Linked DNA regions of Homo sapiens: regions 1, 3, 4, 5 and 6 are each linked to region 2. Evidence: promoter capture Hi-C in 16 types of primary human blood cells and fetal thymus (Javierre and others, 2016). All regions are on one chromosome and are shown on one strand. The core of a region is centred on a gene start or on the middle of the fragment in contact, and the rest is flanking DNA. Distances in the headings are between cores, read along the strand shown. Region 1 has its middle 3.2 kb from the start of TASP1. Region 2 holds the start of ANKEF1 (ankyrin repeat and EF-hand domain containing 1). Region 3 overlaps ESF1 (ESF1 nucleolar pre-rRNA processing protein). Region 4 has its middle 6.6 kb from the start of ISM1. Region 5 holds the start of ISM1-AS1 (ISM1 antisense RNA 1). Region 6 overlaps NDUFAF5 (NADH:ubiquinone oxidoreductase complex assembly factor 5).

The links. The method cuts DNA at HindIII sites, captures the fragments that hold promoters and counts their contacts. A CHiCAGO score of 5 or more calls a contact.
Region 1: a fragment that was not itself captured here is called in contact with the fragment with the promoter of ANKEF1 in region 2 in 6 of 17 cell types (non-activated CD4 T cells, naive CD8 T cells, total CD4 T cells and 3 more); the score reaches 19.4 in non-activated CD4 T cells.
Region 3: a contact is called between a fragment that was not itself captured here and the fragment with the promoter of ANKEF1 in region 2, in 6 of 17 cell types (non-activated CD4 T cells, total CD8 T cells, naive CD4 T cells and 3 more). The highest score is 8.7, in non-activated CD4 T cells.
Region 4: a fragment that was not itself captured here is called in contact with the fragment with the promoter of ANKEF1 in region 2 in 1 of 17 cell types (non-activated CD4 T cells); the score reaches 6.2 in non-activated CD4 T cells.
Region 5: the fragment with the promoter of ISM1-AS1 here is called in contact with the fragment with the promoter of ANKEF1 in region 2 in 4 of 17 cell types (non-activated CD4 T cells, total CD4 T cells, naive CD8 T cells and 1 more); the score reaches 21.9 in non-activated CD4 T cells.
Region 6: a fragment that was not itself captured here is called in contact with the fragment with the promoter of ANKEF1 in region 2 in 1 of 17 cell types (non-activated CD4 T cells); the score reaches 6.3 in non-activated CD4 T cells.

Annotation. Positions count from the first base shown.
Region 1 is chr20:13,639,980-13,644,371 of GRCh38, forward strand. No RefSeq gene overlaps it. Among named protein-coding and RNA genes, the nearest start is that of TASP1, 3.2 kb to the left of the region's middle. The HindIII fragment of the contact is 2,746 bases long and covers 77-2,822 here.
Region 2 is chr20:10,032,682-10,036,896 of GRCh38, forward strand. ANKEF1 (ankyrin repeat and EF-hand domain containing 1) reads left to right here and starts at 2,306. Exons shown (of 11, transcript NM_022096.6): 1 at 2,306-2,652; 2 at 2,898-2,961. All of the region lies in intron 3 of SNAP25-AS1 (SNAP25 antisense RNA 1), which reads right to left. RefSeq lists a silencer at 2,097-2,646. The HindIII fragment of the contact is 1,358 bases long and covers 1,714-3,071 here.
Region 3 is chr20:13,775,824-13,780,154 of GRCh38, forward strand. ESF1 (ESF1 nucleolar pre-rRNA processing protein) reads right to left here. Exons shown (of 14, transcript NM_001276380.2): 3 at 50-447. Among named protein-coding and RNA genes, the nearest start is that of ESF1, 6.9 kb to the right of the region's middle. The HindIII fragment of the contact is 2,588 bases long and covers 1-2,544 here.
Region 4 is chr20:13,212,437-13,216,907 of GRCh38, forward strand. It overlaps a transcript of TASP1 not described here. Among named protein-coding and RNA genes, the nearest start is that of ISM1, 6.6 kb to the right of the region's middle. The HindIII fragment of the contact is 1,204 bases long and covers 1,000-2,203 here.
Region 5 is chr20:13,238,293-13,242,534 of GRCh38, forward strand. It overlaps ISM1-AS1 (ISM1 antisense RNA 1), which reads right to left and starts at 1,395. Exons shown (of 3, transcript NR_040043.1): 1 at 1,161-1,395; 2 at 692-812. The region is part of intron 1 of ISM1 (isthmin 1); the gene reads left to right. It also overlaps a transcript of TASP1 not described here. The HindIII fragment of the contact is 6,320 bases long and covers 1-1,931 here.
Region 6 is chr20:13,793,734-13,798,043 of GRCh38, forward strand. NDUFAF5 (NADH:ubiquinone oxidoreductase complex assembly factor 5) reads left to right here. Exons shown (of 11, transcript NM_024120.5): 5 at 1,105-1,208. Among named protein-coding and RNA genes, the nearest start is that of NDUFAF5, 11 kb to the left of the region's middle. The HindIII fragment of the contact is 6,147 bases long and covers 1-4,310 here.

The DNA.
Region 1 (4,392 bases), core at 200-2,699, 3.6 Mb after region 2:
GCACCCAGCCACATTTCAGCTTTGTATTCAATTTTTAATATAGTAAATATTAATAGATGTAACCCACAGAAACAAAAGCTTTGGAGTGTTCTCTACTATTTTGGGGAGTATAAAGGTATGCTGAAACCAAAAAGTTCGAGAACCACTGATACCATTATTATAAATATAACCTATGTGGTTTTATTATGTAACTTGGGGCTTTTTTTCTTTCTCTTCTACCACTGACTTCTTAGGGAGGGGCAAGGGGAAGAAGTTTATTACATAGTAAGAATAACAGTTTATTACATAGCAATAGTAACTGAAACCGATTTTGTTACCTAGAAGTAGGATGGATATTATAACAAAACATAACATAATAACATCATAAAAGTAAAACGTGTGGCACTGGCTTTGGAACTAGGTGAAGCAGCAAGAGCAGGAAGGGATCCAAAGTATTAACAAGAGTCTAAAAGGACTTGAGGAAGCTGCCAATGAGGGCTTAAAGGGAGCTAAGGAAGATGTTATTGGAAGCTGGAGAAAATGGGGCCCTTGTTATATAGTGCCAGAAAGTTTGGCCCAGGCATTAGGAAGCAGACATAAACCATCCCCATTGTGACCTTTCTGAATTCCTCACCCGCAGAATCCATCAGCATAATAAAATAGTTGTTCTTTTGCACCTTTAAAGTGGATTTTTACACAGCAATATTAACTGGAACCAGCAGGAATAAAAGAAAGATGTTAAAGTTTTAAAAAGACATAGACATGCTCCCTTCCATTTCTTAGGCAACATTCTTCCTGGAATTTAACTACATTGTAATAATCATCTCCCAGTGCTGCTCTGTATACTTTTGTCTTGGGTATCACACCCAGATGCCACACAGGCCATCCTCTGGTAGGTGAATACTGCTCAAGTAAAAGTAACAAAATTCTTCGGACCCTTTTTTTTATTATTATTATTGAGGCAGAGTCTCACTCTGTTGCCCAGGCTAGAATGCAGTGGTGCGATCTCAGCTCACTGCAACCTCTGCCTCCCCGGTTCAAGTGATTCTCCTGCCTCAGCCTCCCCAGTGGCTGGGATTACAGGTGCCCGTGACCACGCCCGGCTAATTTTTGTCTTTTTAGTAAAGATGGGGTTTTGTCATGCTGGCCAGGCTGGTCTCGAGCTCCTGACCTTAGGTGATCCACCCATCTCGGCCTCCCAAAGTGCTGGGATTACAGGCATGAACCACCATGCCCAGCCCAGACCCAAGTTTTAACATTTTTAACCTGCATTGGGTACAGTAACAATGAGATCCTTTGAAATATTAATAACGAACAGTTGTAATATCTATTTGATTAACTCAACATGTTAAATTTGAAAGGAAAGTCTATACTAGTAAATCTCCTTCAGAAAAAATCTGGTTGCCTCCCTCTTCCTGTTCCCACCTCTCCCAAACCCGGAAAAGCAGCAAGCTGAGGAATTACTTCCTTTATCTCAAATAATCATGTCTGCTGCATCTTGATCTTTGTACTCTAAGTAAGCCCCCTCTGTCCTGGTTCCCTGGGGGTCTCCCTTTGTTTTGTATTCCTGGAAAACTATTGCTTTAACACATGTGTCAGAAATGTAGCAGAACAATAGTGATAGTTTTCAATTGTTGTGCCGCAAGTTAACACCAATTCACCTGCTTAAGACAACACAAATGTAATATTTCCGTTTCTGTGGATCAGGTGTCCAGGTCTCTGCTCAGATCTCAGAAGGCTGAAATCAAGGTGTCAGTCAGAGCTGCCATCTCATCGGATGCCCAGAGCGATTCTCCAAGCTCATTCAGGTGATTGGCAGAATTCAAATCCTTGCAGCTGTAGAGCTGGCCACTTTTGTCTTCTTCAAGGTCAGGAGGAGCAGTCCTCTCTGACTTTTCCACCTTGAAAGGACTCAACTGATTAGGTCAGGTCCCCCAGGATAATCTCTCCTTTGATGAACACAGAGTCAATGATTCGTCGTCAAGTTTCAGGAGGGATGGCCATCATATTCTCAGCTTCCATCCACACTCCAGGGGAGAGGATCATACAGGGTCTGTGCACCAGGGGTAGAAATCTTGCAGGTCATCTTAGAATTTTGCCTACCACGTGGAAAAAAGAAAGTTTCAATTATAGATGGACTGCGACAACCCTTCAAGCAGTCCTATGGTAGACAACAGTTGTTTCGCCTGCCCAGCATGAATTCCTTCTTATTTCTCCTAACAGCACCCCACTTCACTTCCAGGGACTGCCCTTCACCACTTGCACCCAGCGTAAGTGGGACTGTCCATCAGGATGCTCCGTGGGATGATCAACTGACCCATGCTAAGCTAAAGCTGCTTCTTGCCTGGAATTTGAAAATTGACAGCAATAATGCAAAGAGTAAAAGCAGTTGTTTATTCAACCAAGGTTACAGAGTTCCCTGTTACTGCTCCAGAGCTTGTATTTTTCCAAAACCTGCTTCCTTAGTTTTTCTTTCAATTATCTTAGGTACTCCCTATCCTTCCAACAAATTCCTTTTATCTTCTTTAATATATAAAATTTTGAGCAAGACAAATAATCCAGAGATTACTTGACTCCCATGTCAAGCCCTGATGACAACACATTGTCTTCGGAGCCCTGACGAAGACTGGTAAGATGAAAGGTGGCCCACCTGCCATCTCTGGTTTCATCCTTGTTGTCTGTCAATTATCTGGCCAGCTATGTTGTCATCCCCCATTCATAGGGCAATATAAATATTCTTCCTGCACAACAAACTGTCTGACCAGTTTGTGATTTAACACCTTTCTCTGCAATCTCTTAGCTTTTTTATTGTAACATGTAAAGAGTGTCCCCCCATTCTCATAAGCTTGTTATAAACATGAAATACAATTTGCTGAACCAGAACCAGTGTCAGCTTCTCAATCACTTTTTCCTAACCACCTTATTTTAAATTGCAATCACACTACCCTGCCTGTTCTCCTTCCTGTTTTATCTCTATCAGTAGCACACACCCCAACTAATCCTCTACAATTTTCCCCATTCTTTTAGTTTATTAATCATCTCTCCTGTAAAGTCAGTTCCATAAAGATGGGGCTATCTTTATTTATTTTTTATTTTTTATTTTTTTGAGACAGTGTCTTGTTGTAGCACCCAGGCTGGAGTGTAGCGATGCTACCATGGCTCACTGCAGCCTCAAACTCCTGGGATCAAGCCATCCTCCTGCCTAAGTCTCCCAAGTAGCTGGGACTACAGATGTGAGCAACTGCACCCAGCTAGAACAGAGATTTAAAAAGAAAAAAAAACATTTTATTGATGTTAAACATAAATACAGAAAAGTACAGCTTGATGATTCTTCATATAGTAAACACAGTGTGTAACCATTCCTCAGATCAAGTGAAAAAAATCATGACCTCGCCCCAGGGTAATCCTGACATCTAACATCACACATCCATTTTCTCTATATTTAAACATTATATGAATGGAATTTTACAGTATGAAAACTCTTTTATGTGTATTAATGTCACACGTTGAGATTAGTCCACGTTGGATGTTTATTCTCCTTGCCATGTGGTATTTCACTGAGATAATTTATCCATTACATTGTGTTTTCTTTCCAACTTTTAGGTTCAGAGGTACATGTACAGGTTTGTTACATGGGTAAATTGTGTGCTGCAGGAGTTTGGTGTACAGATTATTTTGTCACCCAGGTAATAAGCATAGTACCTGATAGGTAGTTTTTTGATCCTCACCCTCCTCCCACTATGTACCTTCAAGTAGGTCCGGGTGTCTATTGTTCCCTGCATTGTGTCCATGTGTACTCAGTGATTAGCTCCCACTTACAAATGACAAAATGTGATATTTGGTTTTCTCCTCCTGCGTTAGTTTGCTTAGGATAATGGCCTCCAGCTTCATCCATGTTGCTGTAAAGGACATGATCTCATTCTCTTTTATGGCTGCTTAGTATTCCATAGTGTATCAGTACCACATTTTCTTTATCCAGTCCATCGTTGATGGGCATCTAGGTTGACTGCATGTCTTTGCCATTGTGAATAGTGCTGCAATGAACATATGCATGTGTGTCTTTATGGTAGAACAATTTATATTCCTTTAGGCATATACCAGTAATGGGATTGCTGGGTTAAATGGTATTTCTGTTTTAAGTTCTTTGAGAAATCTCCAGACTGCCTTCCACAGTGGCTGAACTAATTTACATTCCCACCAGCAGGGTATAGGCATTCCCTTTTCCCCACAACCTCGTCAGCATCGATTGTCTTTTGACTTTTTAGTAATAGCCATTCTGACTGGTATGACGTGATGTCTCATTGCGGTTTTGATTTGCATTCCTCTAATGATTAATGATGTTGAGCATTTTTTCATAAGCTTGTTGGATACATTTGTCTTCTTTTGAGAAGTGTTTGCTCATGTCCTTTACCC
Region 2 (4,215 bases), core at 1,056-3,555:
GAGGAACCAACAACTCCAGAAGCGCCGCCTTAAGAGCTGTAACACTCACCGTGAAGGTCTGCAGCTTCACTCCTGAGCCAGCGAGACCACGAACCCACCAGAAGGAAGAAACTCCGAACACATCCGAACATCAGAAGGAACAAACTCCAGATGCGCCACATTAAGAGCTGTAACACTCACCGCGAGGGTCCCTGGCTTCATTCTTGAAGTCAGTGAGACCAAGAACCCACCAATTTTGGACACAGTTTGACAATAAATTTACACTCAAATATCTCTAAGGAATCAAACTTACAGATTAATAATTAGTAATCAGGTCACGTAAAGTAAATTATAAAAGAGCATTGATACCAAGATTGGCAGAAAGTTTTTTGTGTGACAAAACCAAGTTTTGGCTAAGATACACACTGCTGATGGGAGTCTAAATTGCTGTATATGTCGGGAAAACAAGTTGTCTTTATCTTGATGTTATAAATAACCTATGACCCAGAAATTTAACTCCTAGACATATACTCTAGTGAAACTCTTGAACGTGTGCGTCCAAAGACATTTATAAACATGATCTTAGTAGTATTGCTTTTAGTAGCAAATTCTGGAAACATCCCAAATGTCTATCAATAGTGGAATTGATTTGAAAGGGGTGTGGAATGGTAATATAATGGAATAGCCTACAGCTGTTTAGATAAAGGAACTCCAATTAAACATACCAACAAAGATACATTTCAAAAACAAGACGTTGAAAGGAAAAAAGTCATCAAAACAATACACAACATTCTACCACATTTTTATAAATTCTCAAAATATGCAATATTAAACATGCATTATTTAGGGAGGCATTCAATGTAGCAATGCATTTTTAAGAGGCTGGGATGATAAATGTAAAATTCAGAACAGGTATTATCTCTGGGAACAGGAAGAGGAGGATGCAGTGTTGGGAAGAAATACATATAAGTACAGCAGTAGAGGCAGACTTTTTTTTCCTTTTCCTTTTTCCTTTATTTTTCCTAGCTTTCTTTTTCTTTAGCTATGGTATTTCTTTAGCTATGGTATGGTATGGTATGTACTTTCCATATATCATACAGTATATTTTGGTGTGCATGAAATAGTCCTTAATAACATTTTTATTATTTTTTATTTGACGTTTAAGTTCAGGGGTACATGTGCAGATTTGTTATATAGGTAAACTTGTGTCATGTGGTTTTGTTGCACAAATTATTTTCTCACCCAGGTATTAAGATTAGTACCCATTAGTTATTTCTCTTGATCCTCTCCCTCCTCCCACTCTCCACCTTCTACCCTCCAATAGGCCCCAGTGTGTGCTGTTCCCCTCTATGTGTCCATGTGTTCTCATCACTTAGCTCTCACTCATAAGTGAGAACATGCAGTATTGGGTTTTCTGTTTCTGCGTTAGCTTGCCAAGGATAATTGCCTCCAGCTCCATATTCCTGCAAAAGACATAATTTTGTTCCTTTATATGGTTGCATAGTATTCCATGGTGTATATGTACCGCATTATCTTTAGCCAGTCTATCATTGATGAGCACTTAGGTTGATTCCATGTCTTCGCTCTTAACATTTTTAAACAGTCTCTGAGTAGAATAGGGTAGGCTGGTGTAAGGAATTACTGTTTTTAATTGGAAGCAATTACATACTGCATTAAAAAGCATATATATATAGACACACATATATATGTTTTACATTCACATAATCAAACCAAAGCTTTCAGAATTTTCCGCCAAAAAGCATGTGTGGAGGGAGAGAGAGGGGTGTTATGGTGCATTTGTAGGCCCTGAAATAAAGTGATCTCCATATTTGCTTCCATTTGTGTATAAATATTTTTTAAGCATATATGCATCCTAGAGTATGGAAAGAAAATTTCTGGGAAGATTTGCAAGAATCTGTGGCAGTTGAGAGTAGGTTCACTTTCGCTTTATTGTGTAATTTATTGTATTTTTCATTTAATTGTACTTTGTAAACTAAATATTTATTGTATATTTTACTTCATTTTTTAATTGCCATATGCAGCTTTAATTTTATAACTAAATTACGTTCTGACCCAGGGCAGGAGGTGGGAGAAGAGAATGAGAGAAGGGCGGAATCCTCAAGACAGCAGCATTCTGCGCTCCGCCCTGGAACACCCAGCGCAGCTACCCCATCCCGCCCAGGCCGGCCACCTGGCGTCGAAGCCAGGCGCGAGGGGCGGAGGCGGAGGCGGGGGCGGGGGCGGAGGCGGAGGCGGAGGCGGAGGCGGAGGCGGAGGCGGAGGCGGAGGCGGAGGCGAGCACCGCCCCACCGCGCACGCTGCGGTTGCCCCGGCAGCCGCGCCCTGCGTGGCGGAAGCTCACAATCAGCCCGGTCCCTCCGGCTTCCACCCCGCCCCCTGCGCTCACCTGCCCGCGCGCTCGCCTTCCGGGGACCCGGGGCCCATGGACACATACACCCAGCCCTGCTGTCCCGCGCGCCAGCTCACCAGCCCTACCCAAGGGACATCATTCACGCCTGGGCGCCTCCGCCGGGCTCCGGGAGCCCAAGGTCGCGGCTGGGCCAGCGCTGAGCGTCAGAGGACGAGAGCAGGGGCCTCCCCGGTCGCCCCAGCAGGCCCAGGCACATAGGTGCCCAGAGATCCCTGGCTTCTGATCGCCCGGAAGACTAAGAGGTGAGCATGACACATGGCTTTTCCTTTGACGTTACATCTCTACCCCCTCCACTCCTCTCTTCTCCAGATTTTTCTGGAGACTAAAAAGTGGAAAGCACAGTAGAGAACCCCCAACATGTAAACTATCGCTTACACTTGTGGGTGAGCTGAAACCCGCAAAAGTTTGGTGTATTCATAAGGAGCCTATATTGAAGGACTTTGCTAAATGTTTTACAAGGATCATATCTCATTTCCTTTTCACACAGTCCCATGAAGTGGGCACCATTGCTATTGCCAGTTCACAGATGCAGAAACTGAGGTAAAAACTAGGTAGGTAGCATATCCATATTTATATCCAACTAGTTTGTGTAAATAATGATACAGGGAAGGGAGGATCACAACGGATTTCCCCACCTCAAACCCTACATTCCACTGTACCAAGCTTGTCTTCCTCCATTCCTCTTTCTAATGATCCTTCCTTGTCGCACAGCCCCCCTTTGAGAGTTAAATGACCTGAACACACACAGATTCCCACAGATTTTCATGTAATTTCCGAGTATTCAGACCCCGAACATGGACCTCAAGTCAAGACATTCTGCTCTATTCCACTACCTTGGTAGATGGTTAGATGTGACTAAGGTGGCCCAGGGTCATGCTGGGGAAAAGTACAGGTGTGCTTGTATGTGGAGGATCCTATATGCTGCTCAATTTACAAGGAACCCAGGACCCAAGGGCTACACTTGTGTGATTTCCTGCAGTGGGGTGAGCTCTTGGTCAGTCTTAGCAGTTGATTGTGAAGGACACTATACAGGGTGCTGCCCTCTCCCCAGCACTTCAGGGCTTTAGCTGGGAGGGAGGCAGTCCACAGGAAACCGACCCATGGACCTACTGAATTCATCACTGTAGCTGCTAATTAATTCTCCGTTAGAGATGGGTGCTAACAGAGGCAACATTGAAGTCCCTGATTGGGAAATCCTTATTTTCACAAATCAAGTGGCATTGATTCAGTCTAATCATTACCTATGTAGGAGCATCTTGCCCTATTCCATAGATGACACATATACATATGCAGTATGATGACACCGCACCTAATCGGAATATGGCCGATAATAATAAAACAAGCCATAAATAGCAGCTAAGGTGAGTGTCACCAAGCCGTGCAGCAAAGTCCAAGTGGATGACTCTGAGGCAGCCTCAGTTGGTTCCCTAGTCCACCGCATGTTATAAACAGATTAAAAGGCAAAGGAGGCCTGGCCCGGTGGCTCACGCCTGTAGTCCCAACACTTTGGGAGGCTGAGGCGGGTGGATCACCTGAGGTCAAGAGTTCAAGATCAGCCTGGCCAACATGGTGAAACCCTGTCTTTACTAAAAATACAAAAATTAGCCAGGTGTGGTGGTGGGCACCTGTAATCCCAGCTACTCGGGAGGCTGAGGCAGGAGAATCGCTTGAACCCAGGAGGTGGAGGTTGCAGTGAGCCGAGATTGTGCCACTACACTCCAGCCTGGGTGACAGAGTGAGAGTTGGGCTGAGGGTCGAGGGTCATGGGATAGGGCGAGACACCAGGGGAGTGTGTGAGGACAGAA
Region 3 (4,331 bases), core at 1-2,500, 3.7 Mb after region 2:
TGCTTGTACTGTGTTTTTCACAAATAATCTTGTTTATTCAAAAGGTTACCTCATCAGCACGAGGAGCATCTTTATCTAATTCTCTCCAAGCATGCTCAAAACCAGATTCTTCTGGAAACAAATCTGCCGTATCATCTTCATCTTCAGAACTAGTTTCTATATTTCCTTTACCCCTTGCAAGATCAGGGCCACTGTCACTTTTATCATCATCCTCACTATCCTCATCTTCATCCTCCTCTTCATCTTCATCCTCCTCTTCATCATCTTCACTTCCATCGTCATCACCTGAAGCTCTACCAACACTTGTAATTTCATTTTCAGATTCCTCATCACTTCCTATTTCACTAACGCTTTCTGAATCTTCCTCCAGAGCATCTTTGTCACACATTTCACCATCTGTTGAGTTTTCATAACCATCACTGTCTCTTGTCATTATGAGTTGAACCACTGCAAAATGTTAAAGGGGAAAGAAATTAAGAAAAGATATATGCTGAATTAAACTGAATCCAAATTATCTTGACATCAACTCCAGTAAAAATATAATTTCTATGAAACACAGTAAAGACAAATATATATTCAGTAAATGCTTAGTCAATTTTTATGATAGAAATCCTAACCATAACTTCTATGAAACAGAGTAAAGGAAAATACACTTAACCAAGTTATTTAATGGAAATCCTAACACATGCTCACATCACGCAAGTAGATCCAGACATTCATTCAATACTTAACAGTGTGCCTGCTACGTGCTAAGTGCTCAATATACAACAGTTGGTAAAAGAGAAGCAAACAGTGCTCTCAGTGAAACTTCTAGCTGAGTGAAAAGAATACATGGATATCAAATAAAATCAATATATAGGAAAAGTTAAAATCACAACTAAGATATCCCAGAAAGAATGTTTTCTAAGGGGATTTAATGGGGTCCCTAAGTGAGTGATAACTGAGCTGTTACTTGAAGGATGAACAGGAGTTAAATAGTCAAAGTTAGACTAATAGATGGAAATTTGTTTGAAAGAGCAAGGAAGGTACCTGTAAAAATCTGCCAATAGGAAAAAGCCAACCATCATGTCCAGATCACAGATAGCACAGAATCAAGTAACAAATGGAAATGAAGAGTTAAGTAGAGGCCAAGCTATCAAAAAACCATATAGAGAGCTTGGACTTTTTCATAAAAGCAATGGGAAGACACTGCTGTTTTCAAAAAAGAGGATGTCATCTTCTTTTGGATATTGTCATCCTCAGACTTGCATATTGAGGAGATCACCTTGACTATACTGTAGAAAACTGACTTGGGAAAGTAAAGAACAGATGTGAATATAGTAAAGGTAGTACAGTACAAAAAGCAAGAAATGAAGGTAGCACTAAGTTGGGTGGCAGTATGTATGCAGAGATGTACATGGATTTCAGAGTCAGTCAGGAAGTGAAACCAATAATTACCGACTGGAGATTTGACACGGGGACTGGGAGTTTTGGAAGTGTCAAAGATGAGTCATAGCTTCTTAGCTTTCAGAGCTAGTTAGCTAAGAAGATGGAAAGATGAAAAGGGAACACTGGAAATGAACTAGTTTGTTTGGTGGAGGGAAATCATGAGTTCAGTTTTGAATATGTTGAATACGAAGTGCCACTCAGTCATCTAAAAGAAAGTATCAATAATAAGAGTGTACAGCTCAGAGAAGTCTGGGTTGGAGATCAGTGACTCATTCATACGCAGTTGACAACAGAAGCTGTGATGTGGATGAGATCACCTATAAAGACAGAGAAATAATATTTATACTTTTTCTGCCAGGTCTTGAACTTTGTAATCAACTGTCATGATTAGCAATACACCAAGATTGAAAGACTGTTTTTGCTTAAGATGGAAATTTTAGTCCTCACAACTCTGAAAGGGCTCATTTCCTACTTCTAAAGCAATCACAGGCTTCTATCTACTTGGTGTGTAGATATATCTTACGTGTTTTACTCATCTTTAAGTTGGAGCTTATTTTCTGCTTACAGGCTCTAAGTTTGGAAAATTAAAAGCAAATTTAAAAGTTCAAGATTTAGAATGAAATTGGAACTAATTTTCTCTTGGTCCTATAATCTTATAATAGTTATTCACTGACCAAATATTTACTGAGTATCTACTACATACAAAGAATTGAGCTAGGATAAGGGAAAAGAGAGAAGATTTGTAACACGATCTCATGCTCTTGATGGATTCATAAATAAAAGGTAACCATTTACTGATTTATAAATCTATGTTCTCAATCACCATACAGTGAGAGACATCTAAATTTGCCTGCAGAGAGGTATTTATAAAAAGGCTTCACAAAGATACAACTTGACTTGAGACTAACTGAATGAAAAGGCATCTTGTTAGAAGGAAAAGCAGGAAATGGGCTTTTATGTTACCACCACAACGAAGCAGGGATTAATAAAAATAACTAGCCAATAGAAGTGAAAAGCGCCAAAATGAAAGCATTGTCACAGGTTCTATATATGAGATCTGAAAAACACAACATTGAAAGTTACTATGAGGTAAGCAGAATTTACTTTTAAGCAACAAGCTTAGAAATAACATCTTACAGACCCAGTCTATCTAGTATTGCAATATTTCTCAACTGTCAGTCATTATACCATTTTCATGATTTTTGAATATCATTTTTTTATTAAATTGAATTTTTTAAAAGTTAGTTTTGCTCTAAACAATATTCCTAAAGTCACAGAAGTGATAGGGTAATTACATTGTTTTCTAAGATGTTGACACAGTACATAACTATTAATATTTTAGAAGTTTGAGTATCATCAAAAATCTTCTCACTTATGACAATGGTACACATACCACACTTTGGGTTATATAATAATAAAGTGTTGCATAAGAGACTTAAAGAGGTCTTCCATTTCAATGTTTTTAACAATATCAACTGCATTCAGAGTATTTATTCATTCAATAAGTATCTGCAGCCGAGCACAGCTGCTCACGCCTGTAATCCCATCATATTAGGAGGCCAAGATGGGAGGATCTTGAGCCCAGGAGTTTGAGACAAGCCTGGGCAACATGGCAAAACTCTTTGTCTCTACAAAAATACAAAAATTAGCTAGGCATGGTGGGGTGCACCTGTGGTCCCAGTGACTCGGAAGGCTGAGGTGGGAGAATCACCTGGGCCCAGGAAGTTGCGGCTGCAGTGAGCTGTGATTGCACCACTGCACTCCAGCCTGGGCAGCAGAGCGAGACCCTGTCTCCAAAAATAAAAATAAAAAACCCCAAAAAGTATCTGCTTAGAGCCCACAATGTACACAGCCTTGTGCAAGATAATGTGGGGTTACACAAATATAAATGTCTCTATTCCTAGACAGTATTGCTCTAGTAGTGACTGTAAACATTACTACTTATCCAGCTACTTCAAACAAAAAACAAAAAAAAACCAAAAAAACTGCTTTACCATTTTCCCCCAATTATAAACATAATGAATGATCATTACAAACCAAAAAAAGTTAGGAAAATATGGTTAATAAATAAAACAAAGGTGACTAGCAGTAATTTTTCATTCAAAGATAACTGGTTATTTTAGTATACAACCATATCCCTAAATTTCTTTTCTTTAATTTAAATACTAATTTGTTTAAAATAACTGGTCATATCGTTATTTTGGAACCTATTTTTAAAACTTCATAGATCACAGATGTTTGCATATATTTAATTAATCTCTTAATGATTTGTTACCATTTTAATTTCTATTTTCATTTTTTGAGACAAGGTCTTGCTCTGTTGCCCAGGCTGGAGTGCAGTGGCACGATCTTGGCTCACTGCAACCTCTACCTCCTGGGTTCAAGTGATTCTCGTGCCTCAGCCTCCCAAGTAGCTGGGATTACAGGTGTGCACCACTATGCCCAGCTAATTTTTGTATTTTTAGTAGAGACCGGGTTTTGCCATGTTGGCTAGGCTGGTCTCAAACTCCTGACCTCAAGCAATCCACCCGCCTCGGTCTCCCAAAGTGCTGGGATTATAAAGGTGAGCCACTGTGCCCAGCCAGTTACCGTTTTATTTTAAAAATAATGCTGCAATGCACATTCTTTGCACACATCCAATTATTTATGTAAAATAGATTCTGAGGAGTGCAAGTGCTGGGCATGAACATTTCATGATGACAAATATCACACTGCAAGTCCTCACATCACCTTTACTTCACAGCACTTAAAAAGGCCCTTGCACACAGTAATTGCTGTAATAACTGATGAATGGATAATGAACAGAAGATTATATATGGAGCCGTGTAATCCTTATTTATGAGTAATGCCTTTCCTAGACTGTGGAACCAACAAAATTACTGCAAGCAATGTGGTGGGGTAGA
Region 4 (4,471 bases), core at 352-2,851, 3.2 Mb after region 2:
TACTACAAGTATAACTGGTTTTTCAATATTACCATGCCTGATATTACCATCACGTTGTTAACTCACAGAAACACACACACACACAAAAGTGTGAGAACAGTATATCTTTCAATCTTTGTGAGTAACCAAAACATCCCTTTAAAGTTTTAATTATTTGGCTTTCATGGCCCCGACAAATAAAACCTTTATTCCAAAACACTACTTTTTGTTTATCACTTATTATGGATAAAAGTTGATGGTTATTTACTAAACTACAATTTCAGAATCAAGTTAGACCCCAGGTAAATAAAGGAAAATCTCAACCTTTATAAAATAACAACCACGCTAAATTTGCATTCCAAAACGTGTAAACAGCTCTTTCATGCTTATTCCTCTACAAAGCTATTTCTCATTTAACTTTCATCATCCTGTTTAGAGTTTACAAGTGAGAATCTTCAGATTTCAGTTTAGACACATCTGGCTCACAAATGAGGCACTACACCCTGAGTCATTGTGAAATCCTCGCCACAAGCATTGATGATGAGATCTTGTGTTTATTAGTAAAGACGTTAGAACCAGCCAGTCGCAAAGCTATTTTAAGTGGAGACATCTCTGATGTGGCATCTTAGAGGTGTCAGTTTGATCTTTCTCTGCTGAGGAATGGCTGGATTAAATTCCACTTCTAAATGCAAATTAATCAGTTTTAGCTTTCTTTCAGATATAATCTGAACTGAAGTTGTTGAAAGATTATTTCAACTACTCTTTAGTTATTAAAAAAAAAGAGTTAAAACTTCTAGCCTGTTGGATTTTTTCTTTATTTCACTGAGCTCTTTTGACTTCCCTAGGGTATAATTATATTCCTTGTGCTTTTTAAAAAATGCAACATAAAGCTAAGGTATTTATTATTTTTAAATCACTAAAAACAATTTTCATTAACAACAAATTTATTTCTCCTTTGTCTTACACCAAGCCTGACTTGCTCCCCAAAACAAAGTGAACAAAAAAAAGAATTTAAGGCTAAGCTTTTAAGAATGGATTGATAATGACTTTTGATTGCAGCAGACAAAATTACTGATTCATAGAGTTCACCCTGAGGACAGCCCTCCTCTAATATGGTCACAGCCCACTGCCCTGAGGGAGTTGGATGATGTTGACAAACAACTTGGAACAAAGTGAAGTAAATTCCCAGGAAATTAGATGAACTCATGTTTCCCCTTTCTCCACACATAAGAAAAAGATAGCCAACACACCAACATATTCTCAATCAAGAATTTTTCCCATTTAACCTCACAAAAATGACTTAGCATCTCCGTATCTTGAAATAGATTTACCCACAATTGGGAAAAATCTCATCAGGGACTCCCTGATGTGATGCACTGAGAAGAACATAACATTATCCAGGCAGTATCCCTAGCCCAAACACATAATCCGAAATTAATCCTAGAGAAACAAACATACAAATACAAACTGAAGGGCATTCTGCAAAATCAGCTGACCTAGGCTTTCAAAGAATGTTAATGGCACAAAAGACCAAAAGAAAAAGGAGGACTGGGAGATGTGGACTGTTGAAGACCGAAGGTGATAAACAGACATGACAATGACAATAAAATGCAGAGTGATTCTCACCTGAATCCTGGACAGAAAAGAGTCGCTGTAAAGAATATTATAGGGACAATTTGAACCATTTGAATGTGGTTTATAAGTTAGATCATATTATTGTGTTGATGTTAAACGTCCTGAGAATTATGCTGTGATGATGTAGGAGGATCTCCTTACTCTTAAGAAATACCTACTGTAGTATTTGAGGTGAAAGGTTGTATTTAGCAGGTTTCTCTGTGTGATGAACTACCCTATTCACAAGAGCAACCATTTATTTTGCCCCTTATTCTATTTAGGCTCAGCTTACCTGGGTGCTTTCTCTGGTTTCAGCTGTGTTCTCTTAAGCTCTCTTATGTGTCTGCGATGAACTGTAGGTCTACTAGGTGGCTCTGCTTCTGAGAATAGGCAGGTGTCAGCTGGGGCAACAGTGGTGACTAGGATCACTCCAGCAGGCTAGTCCTGGATTACCAACATAGCAGTGGGAAAGTTCCAATACAGAGACAGGCACACACACACACACACACACACACACACACACACACACACACAGAGAGAGAGAGAGAGAGAGAGAGAGACAGAAAGACAGAGACAGAGAGAGAGATTGAGAGAGAAAGGAGGCATGTAAAGCTTATTGAAACCTAACCACAGAACTGGTACAACATCACCTCTGCTGCGTTTTGCTAGTGAAAGTAAATCACAAGGATTCCACGGGTACAAAGCCAGCTTGTAAAAAGCCTGGAGACAATGGTGAGAAAACTGTGGTCATTTTAAACAGTCTACCACAAGGAACTACAGATGTTCATTCAATTATGCTTGCAACTTTTCTATAGCTTTCCATTTATTTTAAAGCAAAAAGTAATAGAGGATGGCGCAAGGAGCCAGACACAAAAGAGTATATACTGTAAAATTCAATTATATTAATTTTCAAAGGCAAATCAAATGTATGGTGAGAGAAGTCAGAATATTGGTAACTTTCAGGTAATTGGCTTCTGGGGTACTGGTAACATTCTGTTTCTTGATCGGAGTAGCAAAAATTCCATTTGGATATGCACCCAGGATACATGCTGTTTTCTATATGTACAGCATACTTTAATTTTTGAAAGTTTACTTTGAGAAATACAAAGCACGTTGGTCTTGGAAGTTAGGAAACCTGGGCTCTTGTCCTGATGCTGCTACCAAGTCCCTGTGCAATATTGAGAATGTCTATTTAATTCTCTGGGCCTGTTGCCTCAACTGTAAAGGAAGCTAAATGAACTCTGTGGGCCCTTCCCAACATGTAGACCCCAAGATTTAATTCTGACCAAATAGTTTGTTCTCTTTTTTGCCTGGAAATTACATAACCTTGTAATTATGATGCACTTTTCTCCCCCAGTTATAACATGTGCCTGAGATTCTATTTTGCTTTCCAGAATTTGCACGGAAATAATAACAACAAAGCAAATGCAATAAAGGGGTCTCTTTTCAATGCAGATAGGAACTATAAGGGTTGGCTATTTGCAGAAGAGGTCACTGGAGGAGCAGGTCATTATGTTTTAATATCACACAGAAATGCAGTAAAGGAGTCTGGCATGTCAGGGAGAATCATCAGGAATGCTTCCAAGAAGCCGGTCCTATTTCACCACCGCTCCAGCCTTGTTCTGGGGAAGAATAGCACTCCCTCTGGAATAGTTTCTTGACCTCCTCAGAAACTCACCTATTTGGTGGTCTCTTGCATTCTCTGTACAGCTAGGGGCTTTTAGCATGAAGTGAAAAGAGCTACAGGTGAACCCCAGTCTTCATAGGTTTTGTGTGTGTTGGAGCATAGGGAAGTGGAATGTTGCTGGCGATCCAGGTGTCCCACAAGCCTGGCAGCTGCTTTCAGGGGTGGAGACCCTGGGAGCACCTCTGATTGTGGTGATTTTCTCATTTCTGAGCACTGTGACCCCTTCGTAGTTCAAAGGAGAGGCTCTAATGGAACAACACTTCAGGCTTTCTGTTCGTTTGTGTTTCCTTGAGGGCTTCCAGTTTACCTCTAAGGCTCCTTGGAGCTCCAAATTTCAGCAGTTTTCTAAAAGTTTCATTCATTGAATAGATATTTATGGAGCATTTACTATGTGAATTCAGAAGTGAATGAGGCAAACAAGCACACTGCCCTCATGGACAGAATGTGGAGTCCTGTATCGATCAGACAGAGACCTAGAATGACTTGCTTTTTCCTCCATGTGAGAGTGATAGTTGAACTTCACAACAGCCTGAGAGTAGACATTCTTAGCCCCAACTTACAGATGAGGCAGACGAGGAAACTGAGACTAGGGAGATAAAATAGTAAGTGAAGTCCATCTGACTAATTCCTTCATATACAGCCTCTAAAACAAGGTGGTGAGGTTGTGCCCAGTCCCTTAGGACAGCGGTTGACAAACTAAGTCATGTGGTCCAGCTGCCTAGCTGTATACACGAAATTTTATTAAAACACAGCTATACCCATTCCTTCATGTATTTTCTATGACTGGTTTCCCACTGCAACACCAGAGTTGATTAATTGCCAAAGGGACCTTACAGCCCACAAAGACAAAAAATATTTAACATCTTGCCCTCTAAAGAAAAAGTTTGCCATCCCTCCAGCCTCAGAACATTGCCCCCTAGTTAGGGTAATGAAAGTTCCTGGAACAAACCACAAAAGTTTAATGGCTTCACACATTTTTTAAAAAAGTTTATTTCTCAATTACACAATAGCCCAGCCAGGGTGTTCTTGGGCAAACGTAGGGGTCAGGTAGGGACTCTGCTCCAGAGACCCAGACTGATCATTGCTCTAAGGTTACCCTGGGCAAAAACATCCAGCCAGCAGACAGGGGTAAAAAAGAAAAGATCATGAACAGGAAGTTTTTATGGGCTAGATCTGAAAGGGACACACATT
Region 5 (4,242 bases), core at 145-2,644, 3.2 Mb after region 2:
CTCCCTAGGCTCTGAAAGTTCTTGAGAAGGTCATTAATGAGAGGCAATCTACTTCAAACCAGAGGGCCACCTCACTAAAATCAGGCAAAATGGCAAAATTCATAGCCCATTACTCATTAACTTATTTGGAGCTGCCCTTCAGTAGGGTAAACATTTTTTTAAGGGTTGGGGCCAAATTAAACTCCTGGATCGATTATACATAGTTCCCCAATACCCACATGGACATCACTCCACATAATTCCAGTGTGAAAATCTCACAGACTTATTAGCATTTCCAGATACTAGAACTCAACTAGAAAACAACAAAGTTGTTTTTATGCCTATCAGAAAATGAAGAATGTTATTAACTTTCCAAGAAGGAAAAAAGTAAAATTATTTATAATATACAGGATGTTTTTGGCTTCACATGGAGTCTGACCCAGGTGGTGGAGAAAGTCACATCTACGATCAAAATGACCAGCCTCCTGAAAACTGACCAATCCAGAATAATCCTTTCAGGTTCACTCATGATAGCAGTTGATCAGCCCATAGAGGATACAACGTTCTAAAGAGTGGGCAAGTCATCCACTTCTGTTTAACCCATTACTCCTGAAAAGGTTCAGCTCTCCATACTTTGCTGGAAAAAGGCTAACAACTCAGTGCATCCTTCCCTCTCTGCTCCCCTCACTGGTACATTCAGGAAGACACGAACCAGGTGAGACAACTGAGAGCTCCTTACTGAGAGTGTGAAGTGTGATGGTGGCACAACATGCAATTCCGAAGACATCATGAAATGAGATAAATCTGGGGAATCCACATCAACTAGAAAAAAACTGGAAACATTTGAAGAGGCATTGGGATCACAAAGAGAGTGAATCTAAACATTGAACAGCAGGTATTAAATAGAAATAATGAAAGGCAAGTTCTCAGGAAAAAATCTGTGGCAGACTAGGTATTCGAAGTTCTGTTCCAGGTTCTCCCCAGGGACTCATTGCCCTGAAACTCTGTCTGGTGTGGTTCTCTCATGCCCCACAATGGTTCTTTCACTTCTTATTCACCAAGGCCAGGATTAATGCTAAGGTCTGGACGAACCCAATAATGGGCATGAATGGCCTTGGCCTTAAGTTTTCAGGGATCCATCTGCAGGGTCCTCCCTGAGATCTGAGAAGGGTTTTACTTACTTCTTTCATCTTAAGGTGAATGCTAGTGGGGGAATTATTGTGGTGTGCCCCAAGAACGTTCTGTGTCTTGGTCCTGACAATCTACATGAAGTACCTTTTGTGCCACCAGGATACGTGGGCACATGACAGGTACTCACATACACAAGGGTCACTGCACATGGCTGCAGGAATGCCCAGGTTGGACCGGGGCTTCATCTGTGCTCCAACCCACCTGCACTCCATGGTGAGGCACTCTGTTTAGAAGGCAGGTTGCAGACACTCACCAAATTCTAGAATGTTGTTGTAGGCAAGAAAGCCAAGCCCCAATGTCTCATTTCATTGACAAAGAATCTAAAACCTGGAGAAATTAAAAGATTTGGCTAAGACCATACCATTCATTTATCCTACAGCCAGTACCAGACTCCAAAGCAAGTCATCTTTCATGAAGCCACACAATCCCCCATTTCTGAACATCTGTAAAAGTTTTTATAGCCCCACTTAGCTAAAGAGAATTAGAGTAAGTGTACATCTAAAGTGCTGGGATCCTGCTACATGGTGGTTGCTCTTAGGTTGTTACAGGAGCAGAAAGGTAATTAAATGGACATGAATTGTCTCTTTTATTTAATATACAACCAAACTGCAGTAAGGCAAATGAAATAATGTACATATAAGCATTGAGCACTGCCCAGCCACATGGCATTCTACAATTCCATTCATTCATTCAGCACTTTCATATCGCGTGGCTGTGATCAGCAGATATTGTGCTAGGCACTGGAGATTCAATAGAGAACAAGCTTATGTTCTAGAAAGAAAACTGACAATAATTGATTCAGAATAAAGGAATTATTATAGATTGTGATAGGTGCTTAGCAGGACATAAACAGGGAGCAAAAGATAGGGAATAACTGGGAGTTCCTACTAAAAGAGGGTGGTCAAGGAAGGACTTGATGGAAAAGTGACACTTGAGTCCTGAGCTGGGGGAATAAAAGGACCAGCTCTGCAAAGAACTCAGGAGAGCCAGTCAGGCAGACGGAATCACAAACACCAAAGCCTTGAGATAGGAAGGACTTTGGCATGACTAAGGGATGGAAAAGAGACTGGAGAACAGTGTGTAAGGAAGAAAGTGGCACATGAACTTGCAGAAAAAAGCAAGGATTTTGCAGGTCATGATAAAGAATATGGCTGTTCTAGGATTGGTGAGGAAGCAGCCATTGAAGAGCTTCTAAATGATGGCTCCATCTGATCAGTGGATAATGAGAGGGAAGAACATAGATATGTTAGAAAATTTCACAATAATTCAGGTAAGAGGTGATGGGATGTGGACCAGGGTAGAGAAGAGTGGATGGATGCAAGGCACAGTTCTGAGACAGAGCCAACAGGATATGCTGTTGGATTGCATTTCAGAGTTAAGAAGTGAAGAGTCAAAGACAGCTTCCAGTTTCACAAGGGTAGAGTTCATGTCAGTGGATTTATATGGGACATGTGGAATATGAGATGCCTCTGGGACATGTAAGTGAAGATAATAGCAGGGAGGCTGTGAAGTGGACAGGGAGCTGAGAGTGAGGTGTCATGATGAAAGTGGTAAAAGGAGAACCAAGAGGTGTGTCACAGAAGCCAGGGGAGAAGAATGCCTTAAGGAGAGAGGACTTCTATCGAATGCTGCTGTGAGAACAAAAAAGATGAGGCCAGAGAAGTGCTCATTCAACTGGGCAACGCAGCCATGACTGGTGACCTGAATGAGGTCACCAACTGCTCTGCAGTTGCAGAGGCATCATGGGAACAGACTCCAGTGTCTATTGGGTAAAGGAACAAATGGAAGGTGAGGAAATGGAGACAGAATATACAAATAAGTCTTGCAAAAGTTTTACTATAAAAAGGGGAGATATATGAACATGTGGTCAAAAAAGAGTTTTTGGTTCATGTAAGATCAGAGATACCAGGGCATCTGTGAGGCTGATGAGAACGATCCAATAGAAAGGGAGAGATTGATGATGCAAAACTGAGAGAGGAGAAATGAGGAGTGAATTCTTCAAGAAGGCAAGGGGCTATGTGTGAGCATTGGCCTTTCACAGAAGCAGGAAAGCTTGTTCTGTGTAACAATTGGGAAGAGAAAGAAAATGAGCTATGCAGACAGGAGTATAAATAGAGTGATGGTAATAAAAGAGTTACCATCTCATGACTCCTGTTCCATCAGTGAAATATGAAGTGAGGGCAGGAGCACAAGTAGGACGTTTGAGGAGAGAAGATATAAAATGGTCATCTTGGATACTGGAGCAAGTAAGGTTGTGAAGGAAGGGCAGTTGGATTTTGGAACAGTGCTTAGTATTCATTTGAGGGTTTGAGGACATGAATCTAAAATAAAGCAAGTTTGTCAAGTTGGATGCTTTTATTGTTCCCATCACCCACCTGCTTGGCTACTAACCTACAGAAGTTGGATCACTGAGTTCAACCAAAATGGAGGTGTTGCCAGTCAAATATATAAGGAGAAGAGAAAGGGGCAAGCAGAGTTGAGGGCCGTTGCAAGGAAATGATTAAAATAAAAGAACACTTGTTGAAGAAGGAAAGTAAAAACAAGAGAAGGCTGAAGGGAGGTGAGAAAATGGCAGTGGCTTGGAGATCTCAATGAGTTTTAAAACTGGAAAAATGAGTTAAAAGAATGGAAAGTGTCTTTATGTAGAAGGTTTACTGACAAAAGGTCTAGGGAAGAGGGTGGTTGAGATGCAGTAGAGGGAAAGGGTATGGGAGGTGAGGAGGTCCAAGAACTGGGGAGGTCATCTACATGGATGTTGAAGTCACCAAAAAGGACAACAGGAGGTCAATGGTAAAGAAGACTAAGCCAGAAGCTGGGCTTTTAGATGAACGGAGAATGACCAGAAACTCCACAGAGCAGTTGGAACATCCAGCATCTTGAAAGGAGCAGGATTTGTTTGTTCAGTTTTTGTTTTTATTTTTCAGGAGGAAGGGGAAGAAAAAGTCAGGAGTTAGCCATGGAACCAAGAAGATCCAGGAGAAGGTTGAGGGGATGTTCAGAGAAGTGGAAAATGAGAGATTGATTATCATGGAGGAAAAGCCCGAGAAGGTCCAGTAAAAGGTTTGGGAAGGT
Region 6 (4,310 bases), core at 674-3,173, 3.8 Mb after region 2:
CCGTGGGTATAAATTCCTGGTAGCGGAATTTATGGATTCATTTTGATGTTCATTTAAAAATTTTTTGACATACATCTTCAGACTGCCCTTAGAAAGACTGAACAATGACAAAGGTACTTTTTACTACTTTGCTTTGGCAACACTGGGCCAGCCTTTTCGTCTGGGTCAGTCTGACAGCTGCTGATATCTTTTGACTATTGGTATTTCTTGTGAATTTTGTAAATAATTTTGTGATATGCCTGCACCTTGTCCTCTTTAGCTATCTTGTGTTTTTATTCTAGGTGATTTGTAAGAGCTTGGTTTTTAGGGATATTAATCCTTCATTGTATATGTTGTAAATATTTTCCTCAGTTGTTTACATTGTTTATTGATTTCTATTAATAGAAGTTTTTAATTAGTTTATCATCAAATATATCAGTCTTTTCCTTTACAGTTTCTGGCTTTTGAATTATGTTTACCTAGGCTTTTTCATCTAAGGGTAAAATGTCCAGTCCACCCATATTTTCATCTAGTACTTCGGTTGTTTCACTAAAACTTTCAGCCTTCTTTTTTCTTTTTTTTTTTCTGAGACAGTCTTGCACTGTTGTCCAGGCTGGAGTGCAGTGGTGCGATCTCAGCTCACTGCAACCTCCGCCTCCCGGGTTCAAGCGATACTCCTGCCTCAGCCTCCCGAGTAGCTGAGATTACAGGTGCGTGCCACCACGTCCAGCTAATTTTTGTATTTTTAGTAGAGACGTGGTTTCACCATGTTGGCCAGGCTGGTCTCGAACTCCTGACTTTCAGTGACTGCCCACCTTGGCATCCCAAAGTGCAGGGATTATAGGCGTGAGCCACCACGCCCAGCCAAACTAGCTTTCTGAGATTTGTTTTGGTGTGAGGTTGGTATCCTGTTTATGTTGTTTCAACTAGTTAGCCATTTTTTCTGGCTGATGTTAAGTCATTTAAGAAATGCTTTTTGGGTGCCTTCTCTGTGCCACCTTTGGGAAGGGGGGTAGAAACTGCCAAGTAAATATAACATTGACTTCAATTTAACAAACAGTGATTGTGTTAGTAATTGAGATTCTACATAAATGTGATTTTGATCTTTCGTTTTCTTAACATTAGAAAAATTCCTCAGAAACAGAAATACCTACTGTCAGCGTTTTAGCTGATGAAGAATTCCTTCCCTTCAAAGAAAATACATTTGACCTGGTGGTTAGCAGTTTAAGGTTGGTAATCCACTTTTTAAAAACCATATGTTATAAACAGATCATTCTTGCCATAAAGTTTTGCTATGAGGCCAGGAGCGGTGGCTCACGCCTGTAATGCTAGCACTTTGGGAGGCCGAGGCGAGTGAATCTCTTGAGGTCAGGAGTTTGAAACCAGCCTTGCCAACATGTTGAAACCCTGTCTTTACTAAAAATACAAAAAAGGTAGCTGGGCGTGGTGGCATGCATGAACTTCCTAAAGTTCATCTGTGATAGAAGGTTTTTCTCCCCAGTGCATCTTAATATTTTGGAATTGCTCTTGTTGGGAGCAGGAGTTTGAAAGAGCATATTGGCTCCTGTATTCAAATGTTAGAGCAATTCCAAAATAATAAGTTACATTGGGGAGAAAACCCTTCTATCACAGATGAGTTTAGCAAGTTGGGGGAAAAAAAAGTTGAGGCACTATATCATATTATCTCCACCAGAGAGCATAGAATATATTCTTTCAAACTCCTGCTCCCAACAATCATAACTCATTCTGGACAAATTCTGGACAAACTCATTCTGGACAAACTCAAACTAGGACAGCTAGTTTTCCTTTAGCCTTAATTCTTCTGGCCAGGTACAGTGGCTCTCACCAGCAATCCCAACACTTTGGGAGGCTGCAGTAACAGGACTGCTTGAACCCAGGAGTTCGAGACCAGCCTGGGCAACATAATGAAATGCCATCTCTACAAAAAATTAAAAAATTAGCTGGGCAAGGTGGCGCATGCCTGTAGTCCCAGCTACTTGGGAGGCTGAGGCAGGAGGATCACTTGAGCCTGGTAAGTTGAGGCTGCAGTGAGCCATGATCATGCCACTGCACTCTAGCGTGGGTGACAAAGCAAGACCCTGTCTCAAAATAATAATAATTCTGTACCAGAATGTAGTTCTCAAGATTACTCTTTTCCCTTTATGTTTTCTACTATCTTCCTCCACATATGTTACACAAACATGTAATGCAAGTATATATCAAATAGGTTATAGGATACAAGGCACTGAGCCAGATTTTTGGGTGAATACAAAAATGAATTAGGGATCCTGTCCTCAAATAACTCAGTCTAACAGAAAAAATATCTTTGTGGTATCTTCTTTCTCCTGTCTTATAGTCAAATAGATTTTCTTTCAGAAGTTCAGCAGGCTCTCCACGTCCAGTTCAACTCTTTCGATAGCTGTTTTTAGGGTGACCAGTCATCAAGGTGTGCCCAGGACTTTGCCACTTTTGGCCTGAAAGTCTTATGTTCTGGGAAAGCTGGTCACCCTTGATGTTTTCTTTCGTGAGTGTGTAATTCCTTCCCTGGTTTTTTAGATGTGCTGAACAAAGTTAGAAAACTACTCACATTCTGTCATGAAATGAAAAATATGCAGAGCCTTGGTCTATAAAGAACCCTGGGCAGGGAGTCAGAACCTGAGTTTTTATGTTAGCTCATCTGCTTGCTATTTGCAGGTGACTAATTCTGTTGCTTTCTGTTTTCCCATAAGTATGATAGAGTTTATAGTATGAGCTCCTTAGTTTTTAAAGTATCTAATACTTGTCGAAAAGCATTAGGAAAGATAAACATGAGCTTAACACAGTATGGTTTGAAATGGACATTCAGTTCTGTCCTGGAACTCAGCATAAGGGGAGGCAGTTATACCAGAAAAGTGTGACCGTACTCTAAGGAGACTGGGAATATGACTTTCGCTGTCACGCATGACTACACTCTAGGTGAGAGTAGGGTCAAAAGAAAATTCAAGGCCCGGGCACGGTGGCTCACGCCTATAATCCCAGCCCTTTGGGAGGCCGAGGCAGGCAGATCACTTGAGGCCAGGAGTTCAAGACCAACCTGGGCTACGTGGTGAAACCCTGTCTTTACTAAAAATACAAAAATTAGCTGCATGTCATGGCGCATGCCTGTAATTCCAGCTGCTCGAGAGGCTGAGGCATGAGAATTACTTGAACCTGGGAGGCAGAGGTTGCAGTGAGCCAAGATCGCGCCACTGCACTCCAGCCTGGGCAACAGCAAGACTCTGTCTCAAAAAAGGAAAAAATTTAAGAGATTAAGTTTCAGTGTATACAGCTCTGGTTTTTGTTTGTTTTTATCACCTTAAAAAATGGATGTACCACACACCTACTAGAATGGCCAAAATCCAGGACACTGACAACACTAAATGCGACAAGGATGTGGAGTTCATTATTGGTGGGAATGCGAAATGGTACAGGCACTTTGCAAGATAGGTTGGTTGTTTCCTACAAAACTAAACATACTCTTAGCGTACGATCCAGCGATTGCATGCTCCTTGGTGTTTACCCAAAGGAGATGAAAACTTACGTCCACGCAAAAACCTGCACACAAATGTTTATAGTAGCCTTATTCATAATTGCCAAAATTTGGAAGCAGCCAAGATGTCCTTCAGTAGGTGAATGGATAAACTTTGTTGTATCCAAACAACAGAATATTATTCAGCACTAAAAAGAAACTGTCAAGCCATTAAAATATTTGGAGGAAACTTAAATGCGTATTACTGAATGACAGAAGCTAATCTGAAAAGGCTACATAGTGTGTAATTCCAACTGTGACAATCTGGAAAAAGCAAACTCTGGAGACAGTGAAAAAGATTGGTGATTGCCAGGGGTTGTGTAGGGGAAGGATGAATAGGTGGAGCACAGAGGATTTTTAGGGCAGTAAAGCTACTCTATGATACTATTATAATATTGGATATATGACATTACACGTTTATCCAAACCCTTAGAATATACAACACCAAAAGTGAACCTTAATGTAAACTATGGACTTGGGGGATAATCACTTATCAGTATAGCTTCATCAGTTGTAACAAATATACACTCTGGAGATATTGATAATGGGGGAGGCTGTGCATGTGTGGGAATAGGAGTATGTAAAAAAATCTCTGGGTTTTCCTCTTAATTTTGCTGTAAACCTAAAACTGCTCCAAAAATAATTAAAAATAAAGTCTTAAAAATTGATTTTTTAAAAAATGGGATATTATTGGAAAACTCACAGATTCAAACTTTTGATGAGTTACACTGTTTGCCTTGAAAAAATTTAGATCTGCAGATAATTTTTTTCTAAGAAAGTCTGA